2 separate regions of the Homo sapiens genome follow, and region 1 is linked to region 2. The links are contacts of gene promoters, found by promoter capture Hi-C in human tissues and cell types (Jung and others, 2019). All regions are on one chromosome and are shown on one strand. The core of a region is centred on a gene start or on the middle of the fragment in contact, and the rest is flanking DNA. Distances in the headings are between cores, read along the strand shown.

Region 1 (5,402 bases), core at 832-3,331, 160 kb after region 2:
GAAATACTTATCCCAGTTCCTTAGGTCTGTTTTGTTGAAATCATTTTACAAAAATAAATCATATCAAAGTTTTTTTTATTATTTCTAAAACTTTGCTTGCAAAACTAAATATTTTTAACACCATGGCAACATGGTCAGGACTCTGGCTAATGTATCCAGTCTCGTACCAGAGCTCAGACTTAGTAAACTACTGCTGTGGACAAATGGGCTGTGAAGGAGGAAAGAGCTAATAAATTAGACATGGTCAATAATCATTCAAGTCATGTCTTCTGGAGCTTCCCAAAAGGTGATAAATTAGCCAGACCTGTCCTAATGATCAATACCCTGCTCTCCCTTCTAGAACACACCAGCATCCATTGAGTAAAGTGCAGACTGCAAGGCCTCTCAGGAATTTAAGTACTACCTCACACCTCCTGAGGTACTTCCTCAGGCATCGCCTCATCTGACCCTTTCAATATCCCTTTGTGTTGGGCAGAATCCAGAAGTATGATCGGCTCCATTTTTTTTTTCAGTTGAGAGTCACAGAGGCTAAGTGATGTGGCAAAGTGCATGGTTTATCATGTGATAAGAGGCAGAATTAACTTTAAACTTACATCTCCTAAATCTCAGTTCAGTACTATTTTCAACACACCAGCCTCTGTCATTGAAACTTAACAAATTCACAAATGCTTTGTTTCATTGTGGGATTTTTTGTTTTTATGTATTTGTCAAAGTTATACGTGCACGCAGTTTAAAGAATCAGTACATTCTATGCACTTTAAGAACAGCAGTCCCCCATCTCCACCCCACCATTTCCTCAATTCTTCCTCCTCAGAGGCTACCTCTTTTACCAATTTTATGTGATTATTTGGTGCTTAGTAGTATGTCTCTAACAAGCTTCTATTGTTTTTTTTTTATTTTTCTCTTTATCAACTATAAATGATGTAGTTCTTTCCTTCACTCCCGCCTCTTCACTTCCATCACCCCAATATAGCACACGGTACCATGACTTGGTTAGACTAGCGTTTGGTGTTGACATTATTATGACTTTGCAAAAACAACTCGCAGTCCCAGCTGATATATGGAAACTCTGATTATTCCACATTTCCCGCACATTTCCTCTTTCTCTCACACTTGCTCTCAGAATTTTTTTTTCTGATTTAGTTTGTTTTCTATGAGCTTAACGTTAAATGAACCTCACACTTGTTACTAGTTGTATAAAATCTCTTGTCCAAACGTTCAGATATATTAGATGTATTAATTGTGTATTCCTTAAGAACCTTCTCCATGATGCTTTTGACTTAATCAAATCTGAAATGTTTTCTTTCAATGTCTGGCTGCCATCCTGGGCTTTTTCTCTGTGCTGGAGGCTCCATTCACCTTCCTTCTCCACTGAATTTTTATTTCCTGTGACCTATGTCTTCCTCTTTAATGGGACAGCACTTTCTTTAGTAGCATCCTGAAGATAACTGTATGGGAGATAAGTATTTTGAGAAATTGCATGTCTCAAAATGTTTTTAATCTGTCCTCATATTTGACTAATAGTTTGGTGGATATAAGGTTCTGGACTGGGAATAATTTTTCTTCAGAATCCTGATGCATTTGTAGCTTTTAGTAATGCTACTGAAAAGTCTGAAGTCATTCTGTTTCCTGACTGTGTGTGTAATCCATCCCCACATCCCACCTACTCCTAGAAGGGGGTGAGCTTTTCTTTTTGTCCTAAGTATTCTGAAATGTTCTAGTAATAGTATAAATCTGTTTTACTTCCCCCATATTAGTCAAATATCACATGGTAAGTGGCAGAATTAACTTTAAACTTTTGTCTCCTAAATCCTAGTTCAGTGCTATTGTCAACACCCCAGCCTATGCCATTGAAACTTAACTGCCATTCACAAAGCTTCATTTCATTGTGGGGTTTTTTGTTTTTGCATATTTTTTGTATATTTTGTATATTAATCAAATACGGGGGAGTAAAACAGATTTATACTATTATTAAAACATTAAAACTTTTTAGGCCTTTTAAAATTAGGAACTCATCCAACATTTTTAGACATTTTAAATGACTGTATTAATTTATGTACAAATATGTATGACTTTCTGCATGTTTGTATAAATATGCACAAACTTGTGGTACATGTAAGTCTTATAGTAAAAGTTGGATTGCTTCTCACCTCCTATCACTCCTGGATTAGAATTCAGCTTTCTTGTTTGATTAATTCATTTATCATGTATACATCTGTTTTTGAGTTTCCAAAATTTTGTGGTTCTCTCTATGCTTTAAAATTGATGCTTTTAAAGAATTCTACTATCGTTCTAGAAATTTTCAAAAGGAACTGAAATTCCATGAGTGTTCAGTCCTTGATGAGTGTTCAATCAATGACGTTTCCACCAAAGTCCTCCAAAAGGTTTCCAAAGTGACTTTTCCCCCTTACTAGAACCATATTGTTGTTTATGGGCCATGTTTTAATTAGTAATTAAAGAAAATTTTCACCCTCATGACAAGATCTAATTTTTGTCTTTTTTCCTCTTACAAGAAGCATTTAAACTCTCATGGAGGGAAAGCCACTTGAAGACACCAGGTGGCAGAGGTCATTCGTTTTGCAGGGTCAGGGCTGGTCTTGAGCACAGGAAGCATAGCTCACCCTCTTATGTGACTTGACAAGTTCTGGAAAATTCCCTTACCTTCTCATCTACATCAGGAGCCCAATACATCTAACTTCCACACATGGAAGAGATAACAAAACCTTGCAGGTTGCCCAGGGATGGCCCTTTAGTCCTCTGCTATTAGTTCAGTTAGCCACATCAGACTAGTATGCTTTCTTTTGGGTCACGAAGGAATAAAACAGAGGCTAGGTCAATGTCAGAGAGACAGAGAGGGAGTCAGAGAAACTGAAAAATATTGACAGGCAGGAGGTGGAAGGAGAGAGACTACAATAGGCAGACTGGTTGAGTGGTTGTATGTAGAGACAAGAGAAAGCCTGAATTCAATCCAATTTTTATCTGTAGTCCCTTTAGAAGATGAGCCACAGAACGAAGTGGGGCTTATTCTTCAAACTTTATCATTCTGGATCACATTTTTTGTGCTTTTAGGGTGAGCCTGCAAACTGTAAAGGAACAAAGTACGGCACAGATAAACCTGTTTCAAATTTCAGCTTTGCCAGTAGTAGCAAAGTAACTTCCACTTCCTTACTGTAACAACACAGGTAATAACACTTACTTTGAAGGAGTTTTAAGAAATAGAAATGATGTAAGCAAATTTGCTGGTATTAAGTGCTCATTAAATGGTAAGTGTTGTCATTAGTGATGGTGGAAATGGACACACGCCACACCCTTAACCACATTTATAGACCCTTTGTCCACTGTCTACACTGGTAGGGAGGAGAATTTTATTGCTGCCATTGTTTAGAATTGCTAGTGCATAATGATAATAAAAAACGAACTGACTTCTAGTTGACTTTATTATTGCTTTTAGATTCTCTACAGACATGCCAGATAAAAAACAGTACACCAAGTTAAATTAGAATTTCAGATAAGAAAAAATTTTTTAGTGTAAGTGTGTACCATGCAATATTTGAGATACACTTACATTTAAAAAAAAACCCTGAAAGAAAAGTATTGGGCCTCCTGAATTTTATTTAATAAATTTGACAACCCTAAGAGTAAGGAAGAACCATTTTGCTTCCTAAGATAATATCAACAGGAAACACTTTCTTAAATTCTCTTTGGGGCCCAATAGCACTGACTGACTCAGGCAAGGGCCACACTTTCATCGGAGTGGACAGATACATTGATTCCTGACAGAACAAGAGCCAGCATGGCTGTAAGAAGCCAGAATCAAAGAGGATGGTGACGAGGCAAACTTGCATTAAAAGCTGCTGAAGAGCAGGGACAGAGGAACCGTTTCCCCTCCCACAGTAACACAAAGTTGAATATCCATTAGATTAGCAACCAGTTCTTAGCATTCCTCCCTCCTACTCATAGTCAACTCTTGATCAACTGCAGTAATAGGAAGAGAAAAGGACATCACACATAACCCCAAATGAAAATGAAAACAAAACTGATCAAGGGTAAGATCAGGTCCAGTGGTGGCTCATGCCTGTAATCCTGGCACTATGGGAGGCCAAGGCCGGAGGATCGCTTGAGCCCAGGAAATTTGAGACTAGCCTAGGCAACACAGTGAGACCCTGTCTGTACAAAAAATACAATTTACAAAATTAGCTGGGCGTGGTGGTATACATCTGTAGTCCCAGCTGCTTAGGAGGCTGAGGTAGGAGGATTGCTGGAGCTCAGAATATTGAGGTTTCAGTGAGCCATGATTGTGCTGTTACTCTCAAGCCTGGGCAATAGAGCAAGAACCTATCTCAAAAAAAAAAAAAAAAAAAAAAAAAAAAAAAAAGAATGAGATCAAGCGGTAAGTAATGACATGTGGCCTTGTTTCTGCTAAGTCAGACCTGCCCTCCCCTACGTTACTAGAGATCCTGACTCCTGCAGGCAGGACCCAGTAATATCATTTCACCAACAACCGTGTTGCTAGTACAATCAATATCCTTTCTTCTTAAAGTACCTTTTACACAACTTATGCTCTGTAAAAATATTACTAAGTAGACAATGAAAGGGAAAAGAAAGCAAGCCAATGTTTCATGCTTTAAGTTAGGAAATGCTGTTTTAAACAGCATTAAACTTTTTTTTAACTACAGAACTTCCCAGAGGCTTTAATAAGCTCATGTGCTTTGAATCCCTAGGATATGATTTTCGTACAGAGCATGTCCAGGTTTATTTGATCATAGACTCTTTCAGAGAACAACAGTTCCAGTTCACATTTCAGGTAATATTTTTAGGTGCTACTATTTGACGAATCCTACATCTATAGTTTCAGCAATGCTGCACGCGCATGTGTGTGTTTGTGTATGTGTGTGTGTCTGTCTCTGGTATTAACTGGTGCAATCAGAAAGAAGAGTCCACTCCTTGGTGTATTAGTTTCTGATTGCTACTATAATAAATTAGCACAAACTTAGGAGGCTTAAAACACCAGAAATATATCACCTTTTAGTTCTATATGTTAGAAGTCTGACATGGGACTCACAGGCTAAACTCAAGGTGCTGACAGGGCTGTACTCCCTTTTAGAGGCTCTAGGGAGAATCTGTTCCTTGCCTTTTCCACTTCTAGAGGCTTCCCACATTCCTTGGCTCACGGCCCACTTCCTCCATCTTCAAAGCCAGCGACATTACATCTCTCTGATCATTCTTACGTCGTTATATCTCCCTCTGATCATAGCCAGGGAAAGTCCTCAGCGTTTAAAGACTGACTTTAAAGATTCATGTGATTAGATTAGGCCCACTTGGACGGTCCAGGATAATCTCCCCATGTCAACATCAGCAAAGTCCCTTTTTGCCATGTAAGGCAACATGTTCACAGATTCTAG
Region 2 (5,535 bases), core at 2,251-4,750:
AAATAATTTCTTATGCCTTCTCCTATATTTGTTGATGGACATTAAGATTGTTACAAACAATACCTTGATAAACATGCTTATACAAGTTTCTAGTCCTCATACACACGTTCAAATTTTTCTAAGGTGTTTACCTAGAAGTGTAATGTCTGGGTGGCATACTAAGTGCATGTTTAATATTAATGCAAATTGACAAATTACTTTCTGAAATGATGGTACTAATTTACCCTCTCACTAGCAATGCATTTGCTTGCTTGCTTCTCTCTACCTTTTCCATTGCTGGATATTGTCAGACTTTTAGATCTTTGGTAACTTTGTAGATAAGCAACAGTATCTTCTCATTTCAGTTTATATTTCTCTGATTTACTGGTGTAATGTTGCATCTTTTTATATTTACTGGCTGTCCAGGTTTCTTTTTTGTGAATTACCTGCCCATGTGCTTTGGCCATGTGCAATTTTTTTTTCCTATTGGGTTATTTGTGGGGATTTTTTTCTTACTAACTTATAAGAAAAATTCATTCTGAATATGATCCATTTAACTGGTATTTGACTCTTGTAAATATGTTTTTACTTAATCATTATCAAGTTTATAGGTTAATACTTTTTTTCTTTAGAAAGGGCATACAAGGTCAGTTCCAACTGTGTAAAGGGCTTTATTCTTTTTTAATCCTATGCAAGACAGCATACGTAGTCTCTGCAATTGGATGAACAGCTGTAAATAGCTTTTGCAGATCTAAGTAAAAACTCTTCTCTAAAGGTCTTCAAAGTTATTCTCCAAACCTGGGGAGTAGCCCTCTTTTAGCTTCTTGGGGTTACAGAGAGGCTAGCACATTCCAAACACAGGTGGGCAAAAAAAGAGGAAATGGACTTTACTTTTACGAACCAGTGGCTGAGCAGAATCTACTCTTCTCACAACCTCAAAGTAGTTTGAAAGTACTTTCATTAAATAAAATTAATCATTTAGTGATCGTGGTTTAGGCATCATGGTTTAGGCATGACTACATCGAGTCATTCTACTTCTTCTCCCCTTACTAAAAGCAGGTTTTAGTTATGTAACCATGTTTAGAGCGGTCTAGGGAGTTTTTATCCTTATGCCTTCCTCCTGATTGGACAATGGTTTGCAAGAACTTGTTAGGAGCTGTGGAAACACAAATATTGGGCAAAAAACTTGTGTTTCTATATAAATATTTACAAACATACTAGACTATAAATTCTTTGAGGTGAGGGCCTGTGTTTATCCTATCCACGATGGTTATACCCTCAGCATTTGGTTCAGCTGACAATCTTAGTGGGAATGTGCTCAACATTCTCAATCCACAACTATTTATTGAATCTGAGTGCTGTGTTAGACAATCTATATTCTATGTGCTTCATGTAATCAAAGTGACCTAGACAAAATCCCTGCCCTTATGAACCTTACATTCTAGTGGCAGGAAATACTATAATGCCAGGGAGAAGGGAGAGAGAAATGAGAATGAAGAAAAATGATGCAGTGATGCATAGCCCTCTCTATCTCTTTGGGATACAGAGAGGGGGCGTGTGTTGTGGGGAGGAGGTGGGGGCTCTATTATAAAAAATATGGCCTGAGAAACTGCATGAGGAAGAGTCATCATGATTTGATACATGGAGATAGAGAAAACCACAGTGTCAGGGCTCCAAAAAAAAAAAATCACTTCCATTTTGGGAGGTAATTTCAGCTTCTTTGTATTTGATTTGGGGCAGTATATAAGTCTTGGGAAAAAAAGAAGTGACTAAAGCTTTTATTTTAGATGAGGAGGACTTAATGAATTTGTAAAATATGCTCCCTTTTGTGGGGAGAAGTACAGCAGTTTGCACGTTGGGAGAACAGCTGGCTCCAATACAGCTTGGTGGTGGGCTTCGACTGAACTGGTCATCGCCTAAGTATTTTGTGTATTTCTGATTACCTATCTCTCCAGGAGCCCACGTGAGCAAGACAGGTCTTCAAGCTGGTTCAATGCTCCCATTCTGTAGGCAACTACAAACTGTGGCTCACTGCATGACTTAACAACAACTGATTGAGAATTGTAAAGTGCAGCCTCGAGTTCATGTGTAGAAACTGCCATCTGCACAAACAAAACATTGAGAGGACTAAGATTTTAAGGATACTAATGCAGACGTCCTTCTTGCTTCATTTATTTAAAAATATCTATTTCACGTTCCTAACAGCATCTAGTAGATGTTTCTTGCTTCTTCCCCCTAACGCCGGACTAAAGAGAAAAAAAAAATAGGCTGTTTTCTGGTCTGGTTTTGTTTTCCTAGTCAAGTACTTAAATTACGGGTGTTTCGTAAGTATCTTTTGATGGATTTCATTGTTTTGTTTATTTCGCGTTAGACAATACAGACACCTTCATATTTCCTTCTGTAGCAAATCTTTTTCAAAGTCTTCATTTGACGTGGCTGATGGAGCTGGTCTGCAGATCTTGCAGACGTGTTAATTTTTGCACGGACTTTAGCTTCAACACACAAAACTTACGGCCTCTTTGAGGAACCAATTTTTCAGGCTAAGAGAACAAATGAAAGTGTTCGCTCATCTTTCGAAAACTATTTATGTACTTGGTATCCGGAATGTGACATTGGTTTTACACGTCGGTAGGTTTTTGTCCTAAATTTCTGGGAAGTTACTTCCTCATCTAACGTTTTATTTTCCTGACTTATTCGTCTTTGATATGCTACAGAAAACCCCTCTCGCCCAGTGGCTGTTTTCTCTCTGTCTCTTAAGATAATTTAGGAACAGAAGCCTTGACTTTTGACGGTCATTTAGTTTTATTCTCCTCCCGTGACTCCCCTCTGTACACTCACAGGGGAGGCCGCCGGCATCTGGGCTGAAAGAACCCTTGGCGGGCGAGGAGAGCAGGGTGTCATGTTGGCGACAGGCTCCTGCTGGCGGCCAGCGAGCCCGCCAGGTTAACGGGGGCGCCGGGGTCAGCGCCCTCGAAGTTGGGGGCCTCGGGCGGGGCCGCCGGGGAGCCACGACGGCCGCTCGACCAGAGCATCCCGCAGTCCCGTTCCCTCCAGAGGGGAAGAATGGCCGAATCTGGCACGATCCCACGGAGATCTCGCTCTTCCCAGCGCAGTCTCCGCTACTGAGCGCGGGACCAACGCAGGCGATGCCGGGCGGCCGACAGGGAAAGCCCAGACCTGGGGCAGAGAAGGAATGAGGGGCCGCCAGCCGGGGGGATTTCCTCCCGCTCTTCCCTCTCCAACGGGAGCGGAAAATGTGATTTGCTGTGCATTCCAGGCGCGGTTCCCTGGGGTGACCTCTCCCAGCCGGCCCGGGCGGGGGGAGCAGACAAAGAGGCGAGGCGGGCGGAGAGGGGACCCCGCGGGGAAGCAGGAGGGGTGCGGGGGGCGGGGGCAGTACCGGGAAAGGGGGCGGATAGCGGGTCTGGCGGCGGCGGCGGCGCCTGGCCAATGGAGAGGCGCGGCCCCGGGCGCCGCGCTCTGCCGCCGGCATTTAAACGGGAGACGGCGCGATGCCTGGCACTCGGTGCGCCTTCCGCGGACCGGGCGACCCAGTGCACGGCCGCCGCGTCACTCTCGGTCCCGCTGACCCCGCGCCGAGCCCCGGCGGCTCTGGCCGCGGCCGCACTCAGCGCCACGCGTCGAAAGCGCAGGCCCCGAGGACCCGCCGCACTGACAGGTGAGCGCGGACGCACCCGGCAGGGATGTGAGTGGGCGGAGGGAAGAGGGCCGCAAACCAACCCAGGACCCGCTCAGTTCCACGCGCGGCAGCCCTCCGTGCGCGCAGGCTCGGGTGCGTTGTTCGCGGGGGTGAATTGTGAAGAACCATCGCGGGGTCCTTCCTGCTGAGGCCGCGGACACCGTGACCTCGCTGCTCTGGGTCTGCAGGGAAACGTAGGAAAAAAAGTTGTCAGGAGCGGGCAGGATGACCCCCACATCCCGTTTCCACCTCCCGGAGGCCCCCGAACACGCTCCTGGTGCTGGTGGCAGCAGCGCCTGGCAGACGCGCCCGCTTAGCGAGGGCGCGAAGTCCAGGCCGCCAGAGCGCAGGAGCATCCGGACCTGCTAGTCGGCCGCTGACTGCGCGGCGAGTTGCCTTGAGAGGGTCCCATGTGCTTGGGGCGCCGCGCTGGGTCTGGGGGCGTCTTGGGGCGCCCATTGGAGTCCGCGGGTTGGAGCATCCGGAGAATCCATGATGTGTGCATTTGCCGATCCCCGAGGTGAGATGGAGACTGGCAAGGGCAGAGCCGCTGTGTTCAGCCACAGCGGAAAACCGAACGGTGGGTAATCCGACAGCTGCGGTGCGGGGCGCGGCCCTGGCCGCGGGGTCCAGCGAACCCGCAGTGCTCACAAGGCAGACACCACACGCGCTCGCGGACCGGCCACGCACTCGCGGGCGCTCGCTTCTCTACTCCAGCCTCTTCCCCGCCCCGCGCACGCCCGGGCTGAATGGTAGACGTTCTGGCGCCGGGCAGCGGCCACCGGCTGGTTCCCACTTCCGCGCGCACCCCTTAAACTGTGTTCTAGAGGCCCCAGCCTCGCCTTGCAGCGCCTCACTAGCTCCTGAGGACTAGGGACTGGCGGCTGAGGCGGGTTGGCGGCTGCAACGAGCTGGGCGTCTTTCGTTCTCTCTCGCTGCCTGGCTGGCTCCGCTGGCCCCTCCACAGCTTGCGGAGCAAGGCCATAGCAGGGGAGTGGGAGGTATATTGGGGCTGTCACCTCCTTGCTGGCCGGAGTTATTTGTAGACTACAGACTCCGGAAGAACAGACGCGCCACCGCTCTCGCTTGGCATTGCCTTCGGATCGCAGCTCCTCCTTGGGGGTGCCCCAGCTTGGCGTTTATTTGCCTGCGCCAGGCTCTGGCGACGGTCACCGGGCCAGGCGGGGAGGGACGGACGGCAGGTGACCAGCCTCTGCTGTGAAGAAATTCCTGCGCGCCCGGAGCTGTCCCTAATGCATTCCCGGGTCGAATCCGTCTACTGCCTTCCCCTCCTCGACCGACTCCGAATCTCGGCTCTTATAGACAGAAATACAGCCTCAGCGTTAGGGGTTAAAATCCCCCTCTTAAACGGTCCGAGGGCAGAGAGGTGACCACCGATAGGTAATTGGATCTCCTGCTGGAAAGAGCAAATCTGAGCGGTGTGCGCGTCTGTTTATGTTCCCCTTCGAGATGGTGCCAGGACACGAACTGATTAAAACAATCTATTGTGTTAAGTGGGTCACTAGGGTTTTAAGCTGTCCCAGGGACCCCAGAGTAGTGGCTTCCTTCTGGCTGTACACACAAGTTAAATAAATAGCGTAGAAGAGGTTAAGATAACCCCATTCTAGGGTGAGGAGTCCTCTTTCATCCCTAGGGCTTCCCCCTCCCCTTTTCTCTTTTTTTGGAAGGAGGGGGAGCATGAGAGTCTTGAGGGGGGGATGTACTTTTCAAAGCAAGGAGGGAAAGATCTTAAGAAAACTATATATTCTCACTGCCCCCCAAGCCAAGTCTATAACAGTAGGTGATTTGATTACTATCTCTGGATAAATGGCACTGTCAAATTGTTAATATTAACT

The links. The method cuts DNA at HindIII sites, captures the fragments that hold promoters and counts their contacts. A contact is called where the count stands out against the background at its distance.
Region 1: a contact is called between a fragment that was not itself captured here and the fragment with the promoter of GREM1 in region 2, in 6 of the 25 tissues and cell types used here (IMR-90 fibroblasts, aorta, lymphoblastoid cells and 3 more).

The regions. Positions count from the first base shown.
Region 1 is chr15:32,879,168-32,884,569 of GRCh38, forward strand. The region is part of intron 16 of FMN1 (formin 1); the gene reads right to left. Among named protein-coding and RNA genes, the nearest start is that of GREM1-AS1, 160 kb to the left of the region's middle. The HindIII fragment of the contact is 6,926 bases long and covers 1-5,402 here.
Region 2 is chr15:32,714,504-32,720,038 of GRCh38, forward strand. It overlaps GREM1 (gremlin 1, DAN family BMP antagonist), which reads left to right and starts at 3,501. Exons shown (of 2, transcript NM_013372.7): 1 at 3,501-3,658. GREM1-AS1 (GREM1 antisense RNA 1) reads right to left here and starts at 4,362. Exons shown (of 2, transcript NR_109767.1): 1 at 4,042-4,362; 2 at 3,598-3,861. RefSeq lists enhancers at 3,007-3,507, 3,645-4,223, 4,224-4,801. The HindIII fragment of the contact is 12,229 bases long and covers 1-5,535 here.